Linked DNA regions of Homo sapiens: all the other regions are linked to region 4. Evidence: promoter capture Hi-C in 16 types of primary human blood cells and fetal thymus (Javierre and others, 2016). All regions are on one chromosome and are shown on one strand. The core of a region is centred on a gene start or on the middle of the fragment in contact, and the rest is flanking DNA. Distances in the headings are between cores, read along the strand shown. Region 1 overlaps ELP3 (elongator acetyltransferase complex subunit 3). Region 2 overlaps NUGGC (nuclear GTPase, germinal center associated). Region 3 overlaps ELP3 (elongator acetyltransferase complex subunit 3). Region 4 holds the start of PNOC (prepronociceptin). Region 5 overlaps ELP3 (elongator acetyltransferase complex subunit 3).

The links. Contacts are between HindIII fragments. The CHiCAGO score rates a contact against its expected background, and 5 or more counts as called.
Region 1: a fragment that was not itself captured here is called in contact with the fragment with the promoter of PNOC in region 4 in 5 of 17 cell types (M2 macrophages, M0 macrophages, total B cells and 2 more); the score reaches 7.7 in M2 macrophages.
Region 2: a contact is called between a fragment that was not itself captured here and the fragment with the promoter of PNOC in region 4, in 16 of 17 cell types (M0 macrophages, M1 macrophages, M2 macrophages and 13 more). The highest score is 19.1, in M0 macrophages.
Region 3: a fragment that was not itself captured here is called in contact with the fragment with the promoter of PNOC in region 4 in 8 of 17 cell types (naive B cells, M0 macrophages, total B cells and 5 more); the score reaches 8.5 in naive B cells.
Region 5: a fragment that was not itself captured here is called in contact with the fragment with the promoter of PNOC in region 4 in 1 of 17 cell types (M1 macrophages); the score reaches 5.2 in M1 macrophages.

What each region holds. Positions count from the first base shown.
Region 1 is chr8:28,130,746-28,134,627 of GRCh38, reverse strand. ELP3 (elongator acetyltransferase complex subunit 3) reads right to left here. Exons shown (of 15, transcript NM_018091.6): 9 at 2,224-2,350. Among named protein-coding and RNA genes, the nearest start is that of ELP3, 40 kb to the right of the region's middle. The HindIII fragment of the contact is 1,532 bases long and covers 1,171-2,702 here.
Region 2 is chr8:28,078,180-28,082,410 of GRCh38, reverse strand. All of the region lies in intron 1 of NUGGC (nuclear GTPase, germinal center associated), which reads left to right. Among named protein-coding and RNA genes, the nearest start is that of NUGGC, 3.6 kb to the left of the region's middle. RefSeq lists an enhancer at 3,188-3,317. The HindIII fragment of the contact is 3,920 bases long and covers 7-3,926 here.
Region 3 is chr8:28,094,908-28,099,229 of GRCh38, reverse strand. ELP3 (elongator acetyltransferase complex subunit 3) reads right to left here. Exons shown (of 15, transcript NM_018091.6): 2 at 1,912-2,011. Among named protein-coding and RNA genes, the nearest start is that of ELP3, 3.9 kb to the right of the region's middle. The HindIII fragment of the contact is 911 bases long and covers 1,888-2,798 here.
Region 4 is chr8:28,315,644-28,319,610 of GRCh38, reverse strand. PNOC (prepronociceptin) reads right to left here and starts at 2,343. Exons shown (of 4, transcript NM_006228.5): 1 at 2,295-2,343. RefSeq lists enhancers at 326-837, 838-1,350. The HindIII fragment of the contact is 2,214 bases long and covers 1,003-3,216 here.
Region 5 is chr8:28,153,793-28,157,918 of GRCh38, reverse strand. ELP3 (elongator acetyltransferase complex subunit 3) reads right to left here. Exons shown (of 15, transcript NM_018091.6): 11 at 1,887-1,977. Among named protein-coding and RNA genes, the nearest start is that of ELP3, 63 kb to the right of the region's middle. The HindIII fragment of the contact is 4,480 bases long and covers 293-4,126 here.

The sequences.
Region 1 (3,882 bases), core at 687-3,186, 180 kb after region 4:
ATATTCTCTTTTGTGAAATGCTTGTTCAAGTTTTTTGCCCATTTTCCTACTGAGCTGTTTGCCTCTTATCAATTTCTAAAACTTATTTATTTTAAAACAATTTAATTTGTAGAGAATTCTTCTCTAGAAAGAACTCAGATTTTTCATTTTAGCTCCCTTCTGTTACTCTTTACTAGGATGCAGTTAGAAAAGAAATATGATCCACTCATATTCCCTGTGAGTTTCCCTGCAAAGACTACAAACAAGCAAATAAATCTGTTTACAAGAAAGGTTGTCCTTGCAATGTTATTACTGAACTATTCCTTATGTTGAAGACACCAAGGAAAATATGTACTGAGACTCAGCTATTTGCTATGGCTTCCTACAGTATGAAACATACTATATTTTTCAGGAGCACTTAAACTTTATGAGTTCTGGCTATCCTACTGGTCTCCCTAGGAGCTGTGCTAAAGAACAGTGTGTTTCACACTGGGACACAGGGTGGGGAACATCATACCCCGGGGCCTGTCGTGGGGTGGGGGGCAGGCGGAGGGACAGCATTAGGAGAAATACCTAATGTAAATGACAAGTTCATGGGTGCAGCCAACCAACGTGGCACATGTATACCTATGTAACAAACCTGCACGTTGTGCACACATACCCTAGAACTTAAAGTATAATAATAATAATAATAATCATGATAATAAAAAGTGTGTTTCAGGTGCCTTTTTGGCCTGGTGTCTGAGCACCTGGCTATTAGTTACTGAGGGGAGGATACTAGACTCACAGTCTATTACATATCCATTGTGGGGGAATTACGAAGAGGGATATCTGTGAATTAATGTTATCTCATAAACAGGTCCTCAGGTGCAGTTCACCAGCTTAAAAAATAATAAAAGTAAACTTCTTGAGAGGAAAGAATTATTAACTTCACAAATAAGACATGGTAAACTGCATTTTTCTAAACAGAGCAAATTAAAAGTACTTTTATAGATGAAATAACTTGATAAATATCGTCATCATCTTAAAACACACTTGCCCTATCGGAGAATCTGAAGAAAAACAAAAGGCCTGACCAATCTCATTTCCCACAACAAAGTTAACATGGATCAAGAAACTGTGAGAGTTAAAATAACAACAATAAAACAACCCAGAGTTAAAATTCAAAGAACAGAAAGGCAGTTCTAAGCTTAGAGGCATTTGAAGAAAAAAAAAAAAAAGGAAAAAAAAGATCGACTTAATGGAAGCACAAGTAAAAGGTCAACAATAGGTTAAGGAAAATATTTAAAACAAATATAAAAACCAATGAGTCCATAATCTCCTTACCTAAAAAATTCATATAAACTAATACTAAAAATATTCTTATCTCAATAGAATAATGAGTCAGAGGATAAAAACACACAATTCCAAAAAGATGAAAGAAATGTAATTAGTAAATACAAACTTGAAAAATGTATTATTACAATTTCAAAATGCAAGTTAAAATGGCACTTTTATTGATCAAACTAGCAAACAGTAAAATATATGTACATATGTGCATATGCATCTATAAGCATATATAGAAAATAAACAGGAGAGAATTATTTGGGAAGAAAAACTCTGCTGAAATGAGTATAAATTGTTATAACTCTCTGCAAAGCAACTTATTAATACAGTGAGATTCTTAAAATGTTTCTACCTTTACCTGATAATTCTACTCCATGGAATTTATCATAAACAGATAAACCTAAATACTAAAAAAAATTATACACATAAAGTCATTTACCTGCAGTGTTTTTTAAATAATATTAAAAAACCAGTATATCTTAAATTCTGAAAAACTTGCAAGGGTTTAAGCAAGGTATGACATATTAAATTAAAAAGACATTTAAATATGTTAACATGTTAACAGAGACCAGGCTACAACATGGATAAATGCTTGTTAAAATGTTAAGTGAAAAAACTATTACAATAATTTCCTATGTCATATATATTTGTATGTCTGTGTTATATTTGCATAAACAACCTCACCCCCCAAAAAACCTATGCATAGAAAAATCTTGGAAAGAATTCATTAAAATGTTAAGAGTTTTGTCTGATGGGGCTATGGGTGATGTCTCTTACCCTACTGTGTTTCTAATATTCTATAATAAGGATGCATTTCTTTAACACTGGAAAACATCAACAGTGAACAAGCAACAAGACCAGATGGGATAAGAAACATGCAGAGCCATTCTGAATGCGCCTGGCTGAAGTCACACTTACTGTGAACTGTTCAATGTCTCTTTCTAGTCCCACGTTTGGCAGGTCAGGCATCATATGGGCCACCACTTTAAAACCGGAATCTTTGGCCAGGTGAAATGACTCACACACTGCCTTCACAGTGTGGCCCCTAAGGAAAGAAAATCACTACCTGTGAAAATCACTACCTATTTGTGTAACATCTGTTACACAAATAAATGGGTGACAAAGTTAACACAAGGAACAAGGGGAAAACAATCTCTGAGACAGGTAACAGAAGTTCCATAACCAAAATCATATGGCTGGGGGAAAAGACATCTCAGAAAGTCATTTTTTACATCCCCACCTCTCAGGAGGCCTGGAAGTAAATAACTTTATTTCTGAGATATTTCTCAGAAATTCTCTTACACATCTACTTAAAGTCTTGAAAGTAAAGCATTGGGATGGCAAAAGTTAATGTGTATTAAAATTATTTGGTTTAGCATCACCAGTCAAAATAAGCTTATGAATGTAAATACCTGTATTAAAAATTAAAATGAGCTCAAAACCATGCAGAAGCAGCAAGCTGCTATGTTCTTTCCTTTAAAGATCTTGTGAAATTATTTGTAGACAGGGAGGAAGAGTGAAACCTATGATACAAAATAGATTTCACTGGTGGGTTTGGAGGATCCTTAAATAACAGTAGAAAGAGAGAATGACTTAGTGAGAAGGCAGAGTCATTTGGGGTCACGTGGATAAATCATCTTAACTTGGCATTCTAGAGCCAATCCAGCAGGAAACAAGTCCTAACAATAGTTTTGGGCAACTAAACTGAAGTCTTGTGGCTATCCTTCTGCCACGAAGGTGTTCCCATTCACGGCAGAAGGATCCTAGAAACCACAGACTCCATCTCACTCTCTCAGAATGCTCCCAACCATTTCCATGGCTTCAATTTCTAATGTCTTTTTGCTGATGACTTCCCAATTCCTAGGACAAGGCCAGGCCTCTCTCATGAATTCCAAACCCAAATAACCAATACTTTAAAGCAGCACTATTTAAAATGACAGCCACTAGGCACATGTGGTTATTAAAATTTATATTTAGAAGAATTAAAATGGAAAACTCAGTTGCAGGCACAGAACATTTTGATCACTGCTGAACTGTCTATTGCCTAGCCCTGCTCTAAAGCAAACCTTCACTTGGCTATTCTACAGGTATCTGAAACTTAGTGTAGCCAAATGAAACCCACATTCTCTCCAAGCCTCCTTGACTTCCCATTCTCTCTTATCCTCACTTCCAATCAGTCACCAATCACCACCATTCACTTCTTTCCAGGACATCAGTATTTCCTGCTTAATTTCTGTAACAGCCTCGTACCTGATCTCCCTTCCAACTTGCTCTTCTCTGACTGCCCCTTACACTGTAAGCGATCTTTCTAAGCTGCAGATATGCTCCATCACATTGTAGCTTTATGCGTGCTGGTGGCTTGCTCCATTAGATTCATGTCCAGCCTCCCTGGGCTGACTCCTCAGGCCCCTAATAATCAGCCCCTCTGCCTGCTTTTCAGCCTCACCTCTTATCACTCTCCTATTTCACATTCTAATCAAACTAAGCCACTCCAAATTCCTCAAATGTGCTATGGCACTCCCATCTCTAGGAGTTCATTATTTTCTTTCTGCCTCAATCTTCCTCTTCTGCACCTGA
Region 2 (4,231 bases), core at 717-3,216, 240 kb after region 4:
CAAGCTTGGGAGAGCAATATGAGAAGATTCAAATTCGTTTCGCTAGAATCTGCTAAAGTACGTTATGAAAATATCTGCTTATTTTGCTTACCTCTTTACCTAGGGAAGAAAGATGGAGAAAAACATGTCATCCTAAAGCCTCCCTTCTACTACGACTGCTTCTGGTGGCCACATTTCTAATTCTGAACACATTAGCCGATGTGTTAATGCTGAAAACATACCTCTTTTCCTTTAGAGATTTGGAGGCCCTTGTTTCACTTTTGCTTCTGAGCTAATGTGTTTAAATTGCTGCCTTGGGACATCCCTAGTTTGGAAGAGCAGTGCAGTGGCCAACGAGGTGGTTAGGAAATGTTGCCAACACCAAAGTTACTTAAACCTAAACCCAAACTCAAAGAGAAAGGAAATAAATTCTAAATTTCATCAACATTCTATCATTTCATTAACAGTCTCCTCCTCTTCCTTCTTTCATTCTTCAGCTCACCTTCTTGTGAGAGCAAGAAAAAACTTGACCAAAGATTGTTTTTTTTTTTTTTGAGATGGAGTCTCACTCTGTTGCCCAGGCTGGAGTGCAGTGGCATGATCTCAGCTCACTGCAACCTCCGCCTCCCGGGTTCAAGCGATTCCTCTGCCTTAGCCTCCTGAGTAGCTGGGACTACAGGCATGTGCCACAACGGCTGGCTAATTTTTTGTATTTTTAGTAGAGACAGAGTTTCACCGAGTTAGCCAGGATGGTCTCAAACTCCTGACCTCATGATCTGCCCGGCTCAGCCTCCCAAAATGTTGGGATTACAGGTGTGATCCACTGCACCCAGCTGATCGAAGATTCTTTAAGGAAGATGGTAGAGCATCCTCAATGTGTTTGATCAATAGGGACAAGAACGGGAGTCAGAATCTCAGCTAAGGTGGCATCTGTTCCCCAAAGACTAACAGACGTGGCCTGGATGACACTAGTACTGATTTCTAGTTTAACTACCTTCATAAAATATTCAAAAAATAACATTTGTACAGATGCATAAGTGCCTGCAGAGCAATTTTGCATTCATTATCACATTTAATTCTCACAACGAACTCTTTTTTATTTTTTATTTTTTTGACGTGGAGTCTCGCTCTGTTGCCCAGGCTGGAGTGCAGTGGTGCGATCTCAACTCACTGCAACCTCTGTTTCCTGGCTTCAAGTGACTCTCCTGCCTCAGTCTCCCAAGCAGCTGGAATTACAGGCATGCTGCACCATGCCCAGGTAATTTTTGTATTTTTAGTAGAGACAGGGTTTCACCATGTTGACCAGGCTGGTCTCGAACTCCTGACCTCAAGTGATCGGCCCACCTTGGCCTCCCAAGGTGCTAGAATTACAGGCATGAGCCACCATGCCTGGCCAATGAATTCTTGATACAGGTATTTTTTTTAAAACCAATTCTATCCTATATGTGGAGAAATAGAGGCTCAGAGAGATCAGGTGATTTGCTCTGTGTTGCATTGAAGATTGGGAGCAGGAGCAAAAATCCAGGCATTCTGACTCCAAATCCCTAATAATTTTTGCTCCACCATTCACATCTGGAATATGGAAGCCCTTTGTTTGCAGATACTGTGACCACATTGTTTCCTGCTGTACCCCCAGTATCTAGAACAGTGCCTGGTGCATCATAGGCACTCACAAATATTTGTTGAATGAATGGATGGATAAATAAAATAGTAAATATAATTTCTGCTATTCTTGATCTTACCATCTAAGATATATATCTATATCTAGATCTAGATAGATCTATCTAGATATAGATACAAAAAATTATATCTATCATCATTCATTCAACAAATTATTTAGTGCTTGCTGTGTACCAAGTACTTCCCATATTTATTAAAAGTAGAGAGTAAACCAATGTTAATGACCAAAATGCCCCTTTGAGAAACTTTGCTAATTTAAGCATTTAAATTTAAGTAAGTAAATAGTGTTGGCAAGGGTTAATGATGCGAGGCAAGGTAGGGTGAAATGAGATTCTGCCTAAGGAGAATAACTAGGGGAAAAGAAAAGGACATTTGTCATTTGTAATAAACACATTGAATTTTGCATTGAACACAGAAAAAATGCAGTGAAAATGTATTCCTCTGATAGTCTCTCTCTCTCTCTCTGGCTTGTTTTACTTCTGAGGGTGTCTTCAAGTTTGCAGGCAGTAAGGTTGGGCATGGTGGCTCATGCCTGTAATCCCAGCACTTTGGGAGGCCAAGGTAGGCAGATCACCTGAGGTCAGGGGTTCGAGACCAGCCTGGCCAACATAGTGAAACCTTGTCTCTACTAGAGATACAAAAATTAGCCGGGCATGGTGGCAGGTGCCTGTAATCCCAGCTACTCGGGAGGCTGAGGCAGGAGAATCGCTTGAACCTGGGAGGCGGAGGTTGCAGTGAGCTGAGATCATGTGCCACTGCACTCCAGCCTGGGCGATAGAGCAAAAACTCCATCTCAAAACAAACAAACAAACAAACAAAAAAACAAAGAACAACAAAAACAAAAACAAAAAAGCAGTTTGCAGGCAGTAGCTTCAGCTTCAGTTCCTGCATACAATTCTATCAAGTTGCTACTCTCTCTCCCCACTCAACAGCCTTCCTTCTCATGAAATGCCTTTGCCATGCATTTGAGGGAACCCTCCTTTGCGGGCACTACTCCTTCCATTGCCCTATGCCTGAGCTCCAGGGGGCTTGTTTAAATAGTGCCTATTAGAGGCTGCTGAATGTGATGAAAAGAACATTGAACTTGGAGTCAGGAAAACTGAGTTTCAGCCCTCATTGCCATAATCTTACTATGTGACCTTGGACAAGTTTCTTCCCCTTCCTGGTCCTCAGGGTCTGGATCTGTAGAAGAAGGGGCCCTAGCATTCTTTTTTTTAAGACGAAATCTCGCTTTGTTGCCCAGGCTGGCAGTGGCGTGATCTCGGCTCACTGCAACCTCCACTTCCTGGGTTCAAGCAATTCTCCTGCATCAGCCTCCTGAGTAGCTGGGATTACAGGCGCGTGCCACCACACCGGGCTAATTTTTGTATTTTTAGTAGAGATGGGGTTTCACCATGCTGGTCAGGCTGGTCTCAAACTCCTGACCTTGTGATCCACCTGCTTCAGCCTCCCAAAGTGCTGGGATTACAGGCGAGAGCCACCGCACCCGGCCCGCATTCTTTATTCAATGCCATGATATGCAGCTGTTCTAGTACAGGAATGACCTGCGTTTGTGTTGCCTCTGTGATTTTCCTGTAAGAAAAAAAACAATAAGCAAACACAAACAGAAGAAAAGGAGGGGGAGAGAAGCAAGAATAACTGTGAAAAGTTACAATTATTTATCAGGAAATCAGTTCTGTGCAGCCTTCCTATATCTAGCTGAATGTGCACAGTCTTATTTAAAAGATGCTATTCTTAGGTTCAGTGCACATGAATGTAAATAAGCACTAAAAGCAAAACTTCAGTGCTAACCACATAGCTGAAATACAAGCAAAATAAACCACACAGGCAGAACCTTGCTTATCTGAGCAATAAATTTGGACTGTTATCAATTGCTTCTCCACAGAAACCAAATTTTCACAATGAACACCACCATTCCTTCCCTTTGGGGGGAAATAGACTGCAGGATGATTTGAAGAAGGACTATACTCCTGTAGCTCATTTTCTCCTTAATACAATGCACTTGAAATCACAGTGCTCTTGGTGTACTGCTCTTGGCCACACGGAAGCCCTAATCATTGGTACGGTCTCAGTTTCAATGACAGGTGACATTTTCAAAATGAGAATTTGTGTCTTTTTAGCACCCATCTAAATCAGAGAACACTCACACTTTAAGGACTAGTTCAGTCTTTGCCTTACACATGGGAAACCTGAGGCCAGGGTGATAAAACGACTTGTCTTAAGTCCTCCAGCTTTATTGATGGGTGGTAAAGCTGGAGCTGGAAGCTTCCACACCAGATTTCCAGCCTAATGTTCTTCCCACCTCATCATTTAGTTCAACCCAATGACTATATACTGAATGTCTGTACCAAACTACCCCCATTTGTTTATCGCTTTTCCTTTTTATGTACTTGGTGTTTATTTTCTTCTGTCCTCTTAGCCTTTTTGCAAATGATCCCTTTCCATTTGCTAGTGTTTTTGTTTGGTCATCAAATGATCCCTTCCTGCCAGTCTTTGAACATTGGCCAAAGGAATTTGAAGCCCAATCCACCACAACCAAACCACATAATTTCCAATGATTCCAAATTTCAGT
Region 3 (4,322 bases), core at 1,094-3,593, 220 kb after region 4:
ATTTTTGAAAGTTTAAAAAAAACTTTTACCAGCTTTTCTTTGTGCCTCCTAGCCAAACTCTTAACAGTCACCCTGTCTTCTAACTTTAATCCATCTAGAAATATCTGTGAAGTGCTCACATATTTGTCAACAAATATTAACTGAGGACCTAACACGTACAAGAGGCTGCCTGAATACCTGCTATGTTCAAATGTGCAAGGCACAGTCCTTTCATGTTCTATGTTTACATGTTTGCAGACAGGCGTACCAAGAAAATTAATGTATAAATGATTAAAACATATGTCATAAAACACACACACATACCAACAATGAATGCTTCCAGAGTTCAGGGAGGAATCTGATGTGTGCTGGGGAGATATTCATGGAAATGAGCACAGAAGAAAGAGTAGGTCTCAGTCACTAAAGACACAAAGATGACATGGAGGGCAGACAGGCTGATTTATGTGCAGATGCAAAAACAGGAATGCATATATTTTAAGAAATACAAGCAGACCAACTTGACAGAAAGCAGAAGATTTTCAATGTAAAGGTACAGAGGTTTAAAAACTTGGAAAAGCAGGTTGAAGCCAGACTGAGAGACCTTCCAGTAATAGGCTGGTGACATCTGAGGAGGGGCGAGTTTTAAGGACGATGGCAGCTTTAGCTTTAGATGTGCTAAATTAAAGAGAACAACAAATATATATAAGATGTAGAAATGTTCACTAGAAATTAAAGATTTGTATAATCAGGGGTATAACCAACAAAAAAAGAAAGAAAAACTTCTAAAGACACGGTAGAAAAATCAGTAAAATACAATAACTTTATAGTCAAAAGAGGATATTTACTTATTCCTGTAGCAAATATTTACTAAGCATGAGGATTCAAGGAAGGGGTAAAATATTGCAGCATCTCAAGTATCAGAGAAGAGAGTCTAAGAAAAGGTCATTCCTGTATGTGATGATTAGACGACCTGGGGTTGGGGAGAGAACCCTTTCATTAGGGAAGATCTACATAGAGTGAATATATATTATAGTTTGAAAAAAAAAATAGATGCAGAGATGAAAGACAACTCTTATTTGAGACTGTAGGAAAGTCCAAGCTGAAAATGATTATGGAGAGGAAGTGGATGAATGTGTCAAAGAGGTTCTACAGCAGGGGAGGGTTGGATTAGATCAGGGGCCCCAAAGGGAGGGTTTTCCTGACAGAAAGCTGCTGCTTCAGCTGAGACAGTAGGGAAGGAAAGTAGGATGTGCAGCGATGCAGCACAGAAGAACATGGGCTCTGGAGACGGCTGACCTAATTCCAAATCCCAGCTCTGCCAATTACTAGTTACTTACCCCTGGACAAATTATTTAACTGCTCTCTGACTCAGATTACCCACCTGTCAAGTGTGGCTGGTATCAGTACCTATCTCACAGAATTTTGAGGGGATTAACTGAGCTAATACATACAATGCATTAGCAACAGTGTCTGGAATACAGTAAGTGCCCAATAAATGTTAGAAGCTATTAGTATTCTTAAGCTGAGACAATTTTGCCATCAAGAAATGAATGACGGCCGGGTGCGGTGACTCACGCCTGTAATCCCAGCACTTTGGGAGGCCGAGGTGGGCAGATCACGAGGTCAGGAGATCGAGACCGTCCTGGCTAACACGGTGAAACCCCGTCTCTACTAAAAATACAAAAAATTAGCCAGGCGTGGTGGCGGGCGCCTGTAGTCCCAGCTACTCAGGAGGCTGAGGCAGGAGAATGGCGTTAACCCCAGAGGCGGAACTTGCAAAAAAAAAAAAAGAAATGAATGACAAGGCAAGGCAGAAAGCTAAAATTCTCAACTAAAATAAAACTTGAGCTGGAAAACAAGTAGTACTAGATAATTTCATAAAAGAGATCTGCTACCTAAGAACAAGCTTGCTCTCTCTTTATATCCACTTACTTATTTAGATCGATGTCTTTCCCCTGCTCGTGGGCTTCAATCAGTTGTTTAATAACATCTCCTATAGTCAGCATCATCAGCTCAGCAGGGCTGAGATCTCCTGGAAAGTTAATATTCAACAATGTCAAAAATCGTATCATTCAATCAAGATTTTAAAATCTGATTTAGTAGCAGTTTTCCATCCGAAACCATACAAATATGCCAAATGAATAGCTCAAGTTCAGAAGATGCTAAATCTCTACTGTTTACAATTTGATCATATCTTTTGTATCTTTAAAACAAACGTGGCTTTACATATATATGGGAAAAGCTCCCTTTAGAAGCACATACTCTATGAGATTATTAAAAATAAATACAGGAAAGGATACAGGAGTAGAAACAATGTGAGGAGAAAGAACTTAATCACACAGGAAAGGACCAAAGTAATTCTCTTCCCTTTATCTCCAGAGGTGTAATTACTAATATGTGCATAATACTTTAGAGTTCATAAAGAACATTTAGATGCATGAATTCAGGTAATTCTCAGAACAGAGGTAGACAGAACAAGAATATGTGCCTGTTACATGAAGATGCTATCAAGGAGTAAAGTTGAAACTCAAACCCAGGTATCTGCCTAAGAATCTTAATGCATTTCTAAAATATTGTCTGTCCACCATCATGAACTTCTGGCAACTGGGGCTCTCGGTCTCATCCAAAGGCAACAGCAGAAGCTGACAGGTTCTTGTATGACGCCATCCACTCAAGCACAGTTCAAGGATTGGTTCAAGGATGGGCATATCTCTAAGCCAGGCCAATCTGAGCTCTTTTCTTCAAGGTAAAAAATGCCAGTCTTTTTCCAGGGACAAAAGCTGTGGGATATCAGCTTGGAAGCTGTCAGCAAGCAAGCTTCTCACCTGTAGAGCAGTGGTTCCCAACCTTTTTGATAAAAGGAACTGGTTTTATGGAAGATGATTTTTCCACAGACCAGGGGAGCAGGGTGGTTTTAGGATGATTCAAGTGCATTACATTTATTGTGCACTTTATTTTTATTACTGCATTGTTATATGTAATGAAATAATTATACAATTCACCATAACGAATTCTGTTCCCATAGAATCAGTGGGAACCCTGAGCTTGTTTTCCTGCAACTAGACACTCCCATCTGGGGGTGATGGGAGACAGTGACAGATCATCAGGCATTAGATTCTCATAAGGAGCACACAACCTAGACCCACCACATGCACGGTTCACAACAGGGTTCAGACTCCTTTGAGAATCTAATGCCACTGCTGATGTGACAGGAGGCAGAGCTTAGGCAGTAACATGAGTGATGGGAAGTGGCTGCAAATACTGATGAAGCTTCACTTGCTCGCCTGCTGCTCACCTTCTTCTGTCTGGCTCAGCTCCTAACAGGCCATGAACCGGTACTGGTCCGTGGCCCAGGGGGCTGAGGACTCACACTGCAGAGAAAGCTAAAACATAATGAAAGCGTGGATGGAAGGCCCTGGCAATTATGGAGCCCACACATTTACTTTATCTCATTTGAACCCTTACAGTAACACGGAGGGTAGGTACTGTTATCCCATTTTATAGATGTGAAAAATGAGGCTAAGGCAAGTTAACAAGCTATCGTAAACAGCAGAGCCAAGACTCAAATCCAGCTCTTTTCACCACAACTTCCATGCTTTTTTCACTGTAACACACTGCATCTAATTTAATGAGGCAAGGCTAACATATACACAACAATTTTTGAGAGAAATAAAGTCCATCTATACTCAAAGGCTAAATGCTTTCCAAACCATGTAACTCAGCACTTCCAGAGTTCTACAAAGGTGCCTCAGGGGCCATGCAACAGAGGTAGGACTGGTGGTGGTCATGGCAGAGGAAGGGAGAAGGGAAGAGGAAAATAAGGCATGGAGGAAAAAAAGGAGGAGGTCTCTTTATTTCCACCACAGCAGCTCTGCTTTCAGCTGTTTATATATTGAGGTTCTGTGTAAGAATTTATTTGGAGGGTAAAAGGGGATCGGCTGATAAGAACAGATAAGATTTGGAAACCACTTGTATAGCTCTTGAGTGTATCAAGAACTGGAAGAGTAAATGAGTAGGAAAAGACTTCATGAAGGAAATGGCACAGGGATCTTTAAAGATAGGGCAAGATTTGGACATGCAAAACAGAAGGCAATCCAGAAGAAATAATGTCAGGCATAGGAATTACCTATCTTTGTGTGAAACAGCACAGCCTAACTAAAATCCAGCTTTCTAACAGGGTGTAATAAAGAACAGATTACAGGGGACCCTGGCCACTAGGCAAAGGCATTGAAATGGAATGCAACAGACAGTGAAGAATTGCATATTCTCAACTTTGGAAATAAAAAGTTGAAAGTAACGTTTAAGGAAGGTAAGAATATTATCGGTACAAAGAATGATTCAGA
Region 4 (3,967 bases), core at 1,094-3,593:
TGTGTATTAGCATGAAATAAGCACGTAGACAAGCTTAGCTCACTGCCTGGCACAGAGTGGGTTTCAAGAAATGTTAATTCCTTTGCCCTCATTTTATGTGTTTGACCTGGCTGCTGCCTCCCTCTTCAAAGCCCTTCACCCATCCAAATTCCACCTGCCTTCTCACTTGGTAGGATCCCAGGAATGCCTGGAGGAAATGCTCCTTCTCCCGAATTCTTCTAGCACTTGCTCTCTGGATTATGTGATTTAGGACTGAATTACACCCTGCCTTGCATGGTCCTCTAATTGTTTCTCATGTTTGTGTTACGTCTCTCCTCTACCCCCGACCCCACTATGAGTTCATAAGCACCCCTGACCGTAACGGGGAGATGAACTGGAGCCACAATGCCTTGGCTCAGTCCTGACCCTGCCATGTACTGAATAAATCATTTAATCTCTCAGTTTCAGTTTCTCCAACTGCAACACCGAGATAATGGCACCACCTCACAGGGCTGTTGCTGGGATAATAGGTGTGAAAGCGCCTAAATCGTTGTACAAATGTAAAGTGCTGTTATTATCACCTCTGCTGAATCTACTAGAGCCCCTGCAAGCCTCCCTGCCTGGTGGAGTGTAGACGGTAACTACCTGATTGATTGAATACAGGATAGCTTAGTGACAGCTCTTGTCATAGGCTCCAGGGAGCACAGGTTTGAGCCTAATCCTGCAATCACTCCCTTCACTGACAATGCAAACTCGCCTGCATTTTACAAATCCGTAAGTACTCTCAGCCTTCAGCTGATAAAGCAGGGGCTGCTGCCCTGTGCGCAACAAAACTGCGCCCTCAAAATGACCCGAGGCTGTACCACAGCGCCCTCGCCAGGCAGCACCAGGCGGCACATGCTTTTACAGAGGTGGTGATGGTTGGGGATGGGTTTTCCAGGGACCCTCCTCTGCAGAAGACTCAGCAAGCCCAAAGGAGCACGAATCCTTTTTGTTAAAGGTAACATAGCCTCAGTGTAAGCTTGTAGAATATTTCCCTGCCACACTTTACAAATGAGAAAAAAAGAGGCTGCATGCAGTAGCCACCCACAAGCAGCGAAAAAGAGCAGTATTTGCTTTGGGAGGTTTTGATAAGAAGCCAGGCAGTTACTTTTCCCATCTATGTTGAAAACTCTGGTTTGGGCTTGCTGGCGAATGCCGTGCAAAGCTCATCTTTTGTTAGTCTGCCGAACAATGTTATTGGTTATAATTGGGGCAATTATGGGCTGCTTGAGGAAGCTAAACACAGATGTTTAAGCGCAGGATGGGGGTATTCAAGTCCAAAGCAGCTTGCTTTAAATAGTCCATTTCCCGAATCATCCTGCCTTACTTGAAATTCCCCCAGAACTTGCCCATGTTCAGAGCGAGATTCGGGGAGGAGGGGCTGGGTAGTGAAGCCGGGGAAGCAAGACTCGAGGGAGAGAGATGCACAAAGAGAGGAGGAAGAAAGAAGGTGGCTGAGAGAGCCTCGAGAGTTGGGATGCGGTGACTATGAACGGAGTATTCTGCATGACCTGGGCAAAGACCTTTAGGTGGGGGAGATGGGCAGGGGGAGAGGGATGCCAAGCAAGAGAAGAGCCCTCTAAATGAATCGGGTTCTGGGAGACCAAGGTCACGCCCGTAGAAATGCTCTCTGGAATTCACACGCCGTGGCGCTCAGCAGTGTGTGTATACAGGTGAAGCACACTCCCCAGATCTGGCGCTTCCCCATTATTTGTAGCAATTTCTGCTGGGGGCAGAAGGGAGAAGGGCTCCCTCCGGATTAAAAACTCCCATCTGGATGGCATCAAGTTCAGTGATAGGCGGAGAAGCAGCCTGCGCACCGCATCTGAGAGGAAAGGAAGCCACTGAGAGGAAACCCTCATGAGGGGGCCAGGGTCTTCCTGGGGGCCGCCCCGTGGAAGGCAAACCCCCTCCCAAGTGCCTGCCCCTCCTCTGGCCTCACTCCTCCAGCAGCCTCCTCTCGACACAGAGCAACAACCACGTAGGGGCCACAGCTGGGGAAGCAAAACTTTTCCTCATTTCCAAGTTCCCCTCTTTCTGCTTCTGCGTCTGTCTGAGGTTAAAAAAGAGACTCAGCCCTCCCCCGTTCCCCACCATCCAAGCGCTACAAAGGAGATGAATGAAGAAACCATCTCGCAAGAGGCCAGCAGCATCCACACTGGACAAAGGAGAGAGGCCGAGGAGCCAGCCCCTGGTGGCCCTGCCCTCCCGGAGCTCCACGCAGTTAGTCCAGTTAGTCGCGGTCGGGCTGGGGGCCCCGTGCAGTTGCCTACCTGAGAGCTGTCAGTCCCCGGCTCCCTCCGATGGATGCGAGGCTCGGTTCCGCTTTCTCAGCCACACCAGCATATATATCCTCTCCCCCACGCACAGCCCTCCCCTTCCCTGCCCACCTCCATGACACATACACACACTGACCCCCTTCAGCAACCAAACAGCAGAACCTGCAAGCCTTCCTGGCTGTTCCCTTCCCCCGGCTCTGCCATCAGACCTGTGACATCCCCACCTCCCCATCAATCCATTCTCAAGCCTGCTTCACCTGGACTCTGTTCAGCCAGGATCCCACAGCTGCCTTCCCTGTGCTTCCAGAGGCTCTGTGAGGACTGATGGGGAGCTCTGGCAAGTCAGAAAAAAAGCCTCCTGGTGACAGTGACGAGGCAGACCCCAAATCCTGGAGTCTCCTTGAGCAACCTTTTTGCCTGAGGAGTGAAGAATAGGAGGCAGGCAGAAGGGAGGGGAGCTCATGCCAAGCTCCTACCGACTCGGAGGAGCCCAGGGCTGAGCTAAGCCAAGCCCTGACCTAATGTCATTGCCCCTAACTAGGCCACTCAAGAGGTGGCTGCACCTGCCCTGGGCCAGGTCAGGAGGCATTTCCACAGGTGCCCACAGCATGGTGCAATGGAGAATGCTGAGACTCGAGGCTCAGATGGAAGTGTCTGAAATTCGGCTGTACAGTCAGAGCAAGGCACATCTCTTTGTGAACCTCAAGTCCTCCTTCCGGAAAATGAGTCTAATACTGCCCAGGATGGTTGTGAGTAGAAAAAGGAGATTCTGTTTGAATCTACAACACACGAGGCCCTTAATGAATGTGCTGCATCCTCCCTCTCCTCTCAGCCCGCTTTTCACACTGATTAGTACCACCTGGATGTAGAAATCCCATATCAGTGTCTGGTGTCACAACAGAGAGCTTTTAAAGCTTCTGCAACTTAGGGCATCACTACCGAGGGCCCTGGAGGCTCAGAAGCTCTGGAAGCTTCCCTGTCCCTTACTGCAGAGCCTCTTTGTCTTCTACAGCCGCCGGGGGTTGTGGGCTGCAGGAAAGGAGCTCACAGGCTGAAGGCACAGGCTTGAGGGTTTAGCATCCTTGTGGACCCCACGTTTCCTTACCTTAGGTGAATTTCACCATGACCCTGTCCTTGGTTTTCCTAAGAGGGTCTAAAATATTCCAGAATCCCAGGGTTTGAACCTATGTCATCCAAGGAGCTCAAGCACTCATTCATGTGGTTAAGTCCAGCTCTCTGGTCTACCCAGGACTGGGTGGAGAAGGATTGAGGGAAGCATCTGCCCTGACTGCAAATGGTATAGGGTTTCTTTTTGGGGTAATGGAAATGTTCTGGATTTAGACTGAGGTGATGGTTGCACAACATAGCAAGAATACTAAAACCCACCAAATTGTATGCTTTAAAATGGTGCATTTTATGTTATGGGAATTACATCTCCATAAAAAGAAAATAGGAAAAAGACAGCAAACATCTGCTCAGGTTAAGAGCAACAGGTTCTGAGAATAAAATTTCCCTTCCGTCTGTGTTCACAGCAAAAGGGCTCAGGAGACCAGCATACTCATGATTCTTCACTTAGATCTCTGTTGCCCAAACCTTACACTGCAGGTCGCAGCTACCATTTTGGACTCTTTGGGAAACCAGCATGTTCACTGACTGACACGGGGTCA
Region 5 (4,126 bases), core at 1,283-3,782, 160 kb after region 4:
TGGCTCTTGAATATCTGAGAAGGCATGGAGCTGCCTGCAGACAATGCCAATGCAATGTCTGGTCTGCATGGCCAAGCATCTGTGATGTGGCTCTCACTTCTATTCCACAACCCACAGTGCATGCTATGCTACCAGACATTTACAATTACACAATCCTTTTCATTATTATAAATCATTGTAATTATTCAATTATATATCTTATGGTATATTTCCCCCCCATAGAACAAACCATAAACATTTTCTTCCAGTAAGAAAAGATCACTGTGGGAAATTTGATGATGTCACATAAGCTTTTCTAGTAATAGTATTTTTATGAAGGACTGCTATATATGTACAGAATTCCAAGAGAAAAATAAGAGCTCATTATTCAGTTGTAGAAAACTAAAGCTACTTCCACACCCCAGGAACTAGCTCAAGACAATGCTTTGCTGATGTAGAGTCCATGAATTCCAGTAAACAAAAACTGTACAGCAGACGAAGATGATCAATCTCTGTAATTATTAATCTACTTAATGTAGCTGCTGTCCTTTCACTACAATAGTTCTATATAGTAGCTAGCATGGGAATGTATTACTGTTCCATGTTCTTAATGAACATCTGCATGCTGTTTCTGTTTTTTTTTTTTTTTTGGCATGCTTTTTTTAAAGGCAGAGATTGGTGTGTGCTTATTTTCTGCTCAAGATGTTGCCTATAGGAACTAGATATATTTTGGCTATGACTGAATTCCAGCCTTTGGACTCAATCCCAGCTTACTTTAATAGAGGCTAACAAGGCTTATGAGGGGTGAGGGTTAAAGAAGATGGATGGATAACGAGATTGTTGGGATAACCAGGCCAGGTCAGTCACCTTGGCCTTCTTGAAGGTCAGTGGCCTTCTTGGAGGCGAGAGGAGATGGAGAACACAAACAGCTGGAGCCTTGGAGGCAAAGCAGGCACACAATCTTGTTTGGTGTCCTTTGCTATTTTTCTGGAACATAAAATTGTTCACTTTTTTTTTGGTAGAATATGCCAATAATATTCACAAACTCTCCCCTGAACAATCTTCTGAAACATTTTCTCCCTAATAATTTGAGTGAGAGAATAAAATGTCTTAGGTTAAGTCCACAAACACCATATGCAATCCTTGGAACCATGTCTTTCAAAGTGTGGCCCAAATCTGAATTGTGCATGAGAACCATGTACCTAGTGCTGGATAACAAACAGATAGGTCCCATCCCAATCTACTGATCCAGAATCTATGAAGGCAGAGCCCAGGAGTCGGCCCTTGGTCTCAACACCACTCCTGGTTTATCCCTTTAGCAGCTCTAAGAAGTTCCTGAGCACTGGAGTTTTAAACCTTCCTATGACTTAAGAATTTCCCACAGAGACTGTTAAGTTGCAGGTTCTTGGGCTCTTTGTATATCCTGGGCCAGCACAGAGGAGATGTTTAGTAAATATCTGTGAGCGAAGAAGGGACTTCAATGGCCAGAGGGATAGGAGACTGGTATATGTGGGGCAATAGCAGTTTTGGCAATTATTTCATGCACATAATACTTGTCTTTTCAAATGATTATACTTTCCTTTCAGGATTCACGTCTCCTTTTCCTTCAGTCAATAACTGAATACCTAATACTTCAAAAGAAAAACTGTTTTTAAAAACTGGAGTGGGGCACACAGTTGGCAATCTGAGCAGGCAGAAGAAAGCAGAAGGGAATGAAGGAAAAGGAGGCAGCCCCTGCACCACTGGCTTCAGCTCCGACACAGTTCAGTGACTATGCTTTCAACATCTGGGAGCTTTCTGACCTGACCCGCAAGTCTGGTTTTAGGGGTGGTAGTGGCAAAGTCTTTCGTGTTTCAGATTTCTCTTTTTCTCAACAGTTGTGGCCTGACCGCCATATTTGCTCTTACCTGTATTCCGAGGTCTTTCATTCTTGCAAGTGCCAGCTCTCTCAGGTTACCATGCTCTACTCCTGAGCTAACTAAAGGCATTGGAATATCCCTGTACACAGGAGAAAAACATAAGCTGTTGCAAAATAGAAATCATTCTCCACAGCAGTAAGGCAAGGATATTAAAAAAGTTAAAAAGAACAAAAATAAAAAAGCAAAAAACCTATGAAGCTGACCAGGAAATCAGAGGCAAAGCCTCCTAACAAGGAGCTTCTCTATGCCTCAGCTTTCTCATCAAGGAAATTATGATTTCCCCTGACCTTCAGGGTTTCTGTGAAAGGCACCTGATGGAAATCACTTTATAAAATTACAGAGTGCTAAGCAAATGACTGAATGCCCAATAACCATTTGTAAAGATTTTTTGAGTAAAGAGACATTTGTACCAAATAAATCAAGAAATAAATTTTTTCCTTTACAAAATCTGTTCAACAATGTAGCTTACATTTTCCCACACAGCTGCTGAATGACAAGTAACTGGGATGCTCAAACGCCTGCCTTAGCCAACAACTGGTCTCAAAGATTAAATCTTTTTTCCTTGTTTCTCAAAAATCTAAGTTAAAAGTGACTGTGCATTAGAGGAATAACAGCTTGCCTAAAGACAGGAGGAAATAAAATTTATTTCCTGGCATTAATACAGCATAAAGTGCCAGGCATCAAGGAAACTTCCATCAAGAGCTGAAGTTATGAGTTCCATTTTAGTTGCTCCAACACTCTCCTCTAGACAAAAATCAGTATCTAAAGATAAAATAGTTAACAAAATCTGAAGTAAAAATATGCTCGGCACATCTGCTTCCTGTTCAAAGACAAGTCTCTAATTTGTTTTGTCTCCTATGTGGTTGATCAGAGGAAAGATGTGGAGAATATGCCAATTATCTTTTCTTCTCATTTTGCTTTTGAATCAACTTGAGTCTTTTCCTCCTCTTTTCACTTATCCCTTCAAATGTTAAATACAATTAGCTACTTCATCCATTTGATTTTAATAAGATATTCCTCCAGCAAAAGTATCAAAAGCCAATCGATTAGCTTTAAAAGCTATACAAGTAAGTCTGTTAGGCTCTGGAAGCCAGGAGAGTTGCCATACAAACTCTATAAATCAAAGATAAGTCAAAATTCTTTAAGGCAAAGACACATTGGAGCTTTCAAACTGAGAGTGACATAAAATGTATATATTAGAGTGACCAGAGTTAGCATATATGGCTTACTTAACAGTTATCAGTAAAATAAATTTCTATCTTTGGAACTATAATTTTCTTAAAATCAAATACATTTTAAAATTAGTAATCAGATGACGCTAAATGAAGGCTACTAAAGTAAAAAATATGGTTAATTTTGGCAAGGAACATATGTATATTTTTAAAATTTTACTGTTTCAGATTGTACAAGCCAAAGTCTTCTAAATGCCCTTTTTTACCCTGAAATAATTTATAAAGAACTCACAAATATATAAATTATTAAATATGTGGCTATACATCATATAGATTAAATATATGGCTATACATCTCATATATACACATATAAGAAATATATAAAACTTAAAATTTAAAACATCATACACAGCACAAAATTAATCTGATAAAGTCAGTGGCAACCAGTGTTAGCGCCCATTACATGACAAATACATTTAATTCTTGTTATTCATGATAGTTGTGCTGTTGTGAATACTGAATTAGTGAATACTAAAGCATTGTCCACAGGGGATATACAGGGTTAGGTTCCTGTGAGCCCCTAAAACATCTTCAACTGATCAATGCATAACCTTGTTTGATGCATGTTTCTGTTTAAAGGCACCTTATTTAACATATAGCTGATTCATTAACATTGAACTCATGGCCACAGCACTATAACTCATGGACAGCACTATAACTCAAGGACAGCGCTATAACTCAAAGCAGCTTACCTAACACATGTAATTTCTCTAAGGCACACAACAGCCTTCTTGCATTTAGGAACATGAGATAGCATCTCAGGACTACACTTGGGGCAGTGCTCCTCTCTGTATCCTTAGTTAATTAAGAAGAAAATGAATGAAGAGGTGCGGAATACCATGGATGGCTGGACATAGGAAGAGAGCAGAGGCCTAAAGGTAGGGCCTCTGTGGGTTGAAGGATGACTGTATGTAGGAAACTGGTCACTGAGAAGTTAATTACCCAATGCACCAAAAACCAATTAAAAAATCTCAAACCCTTAAAAGAGGCATCAAT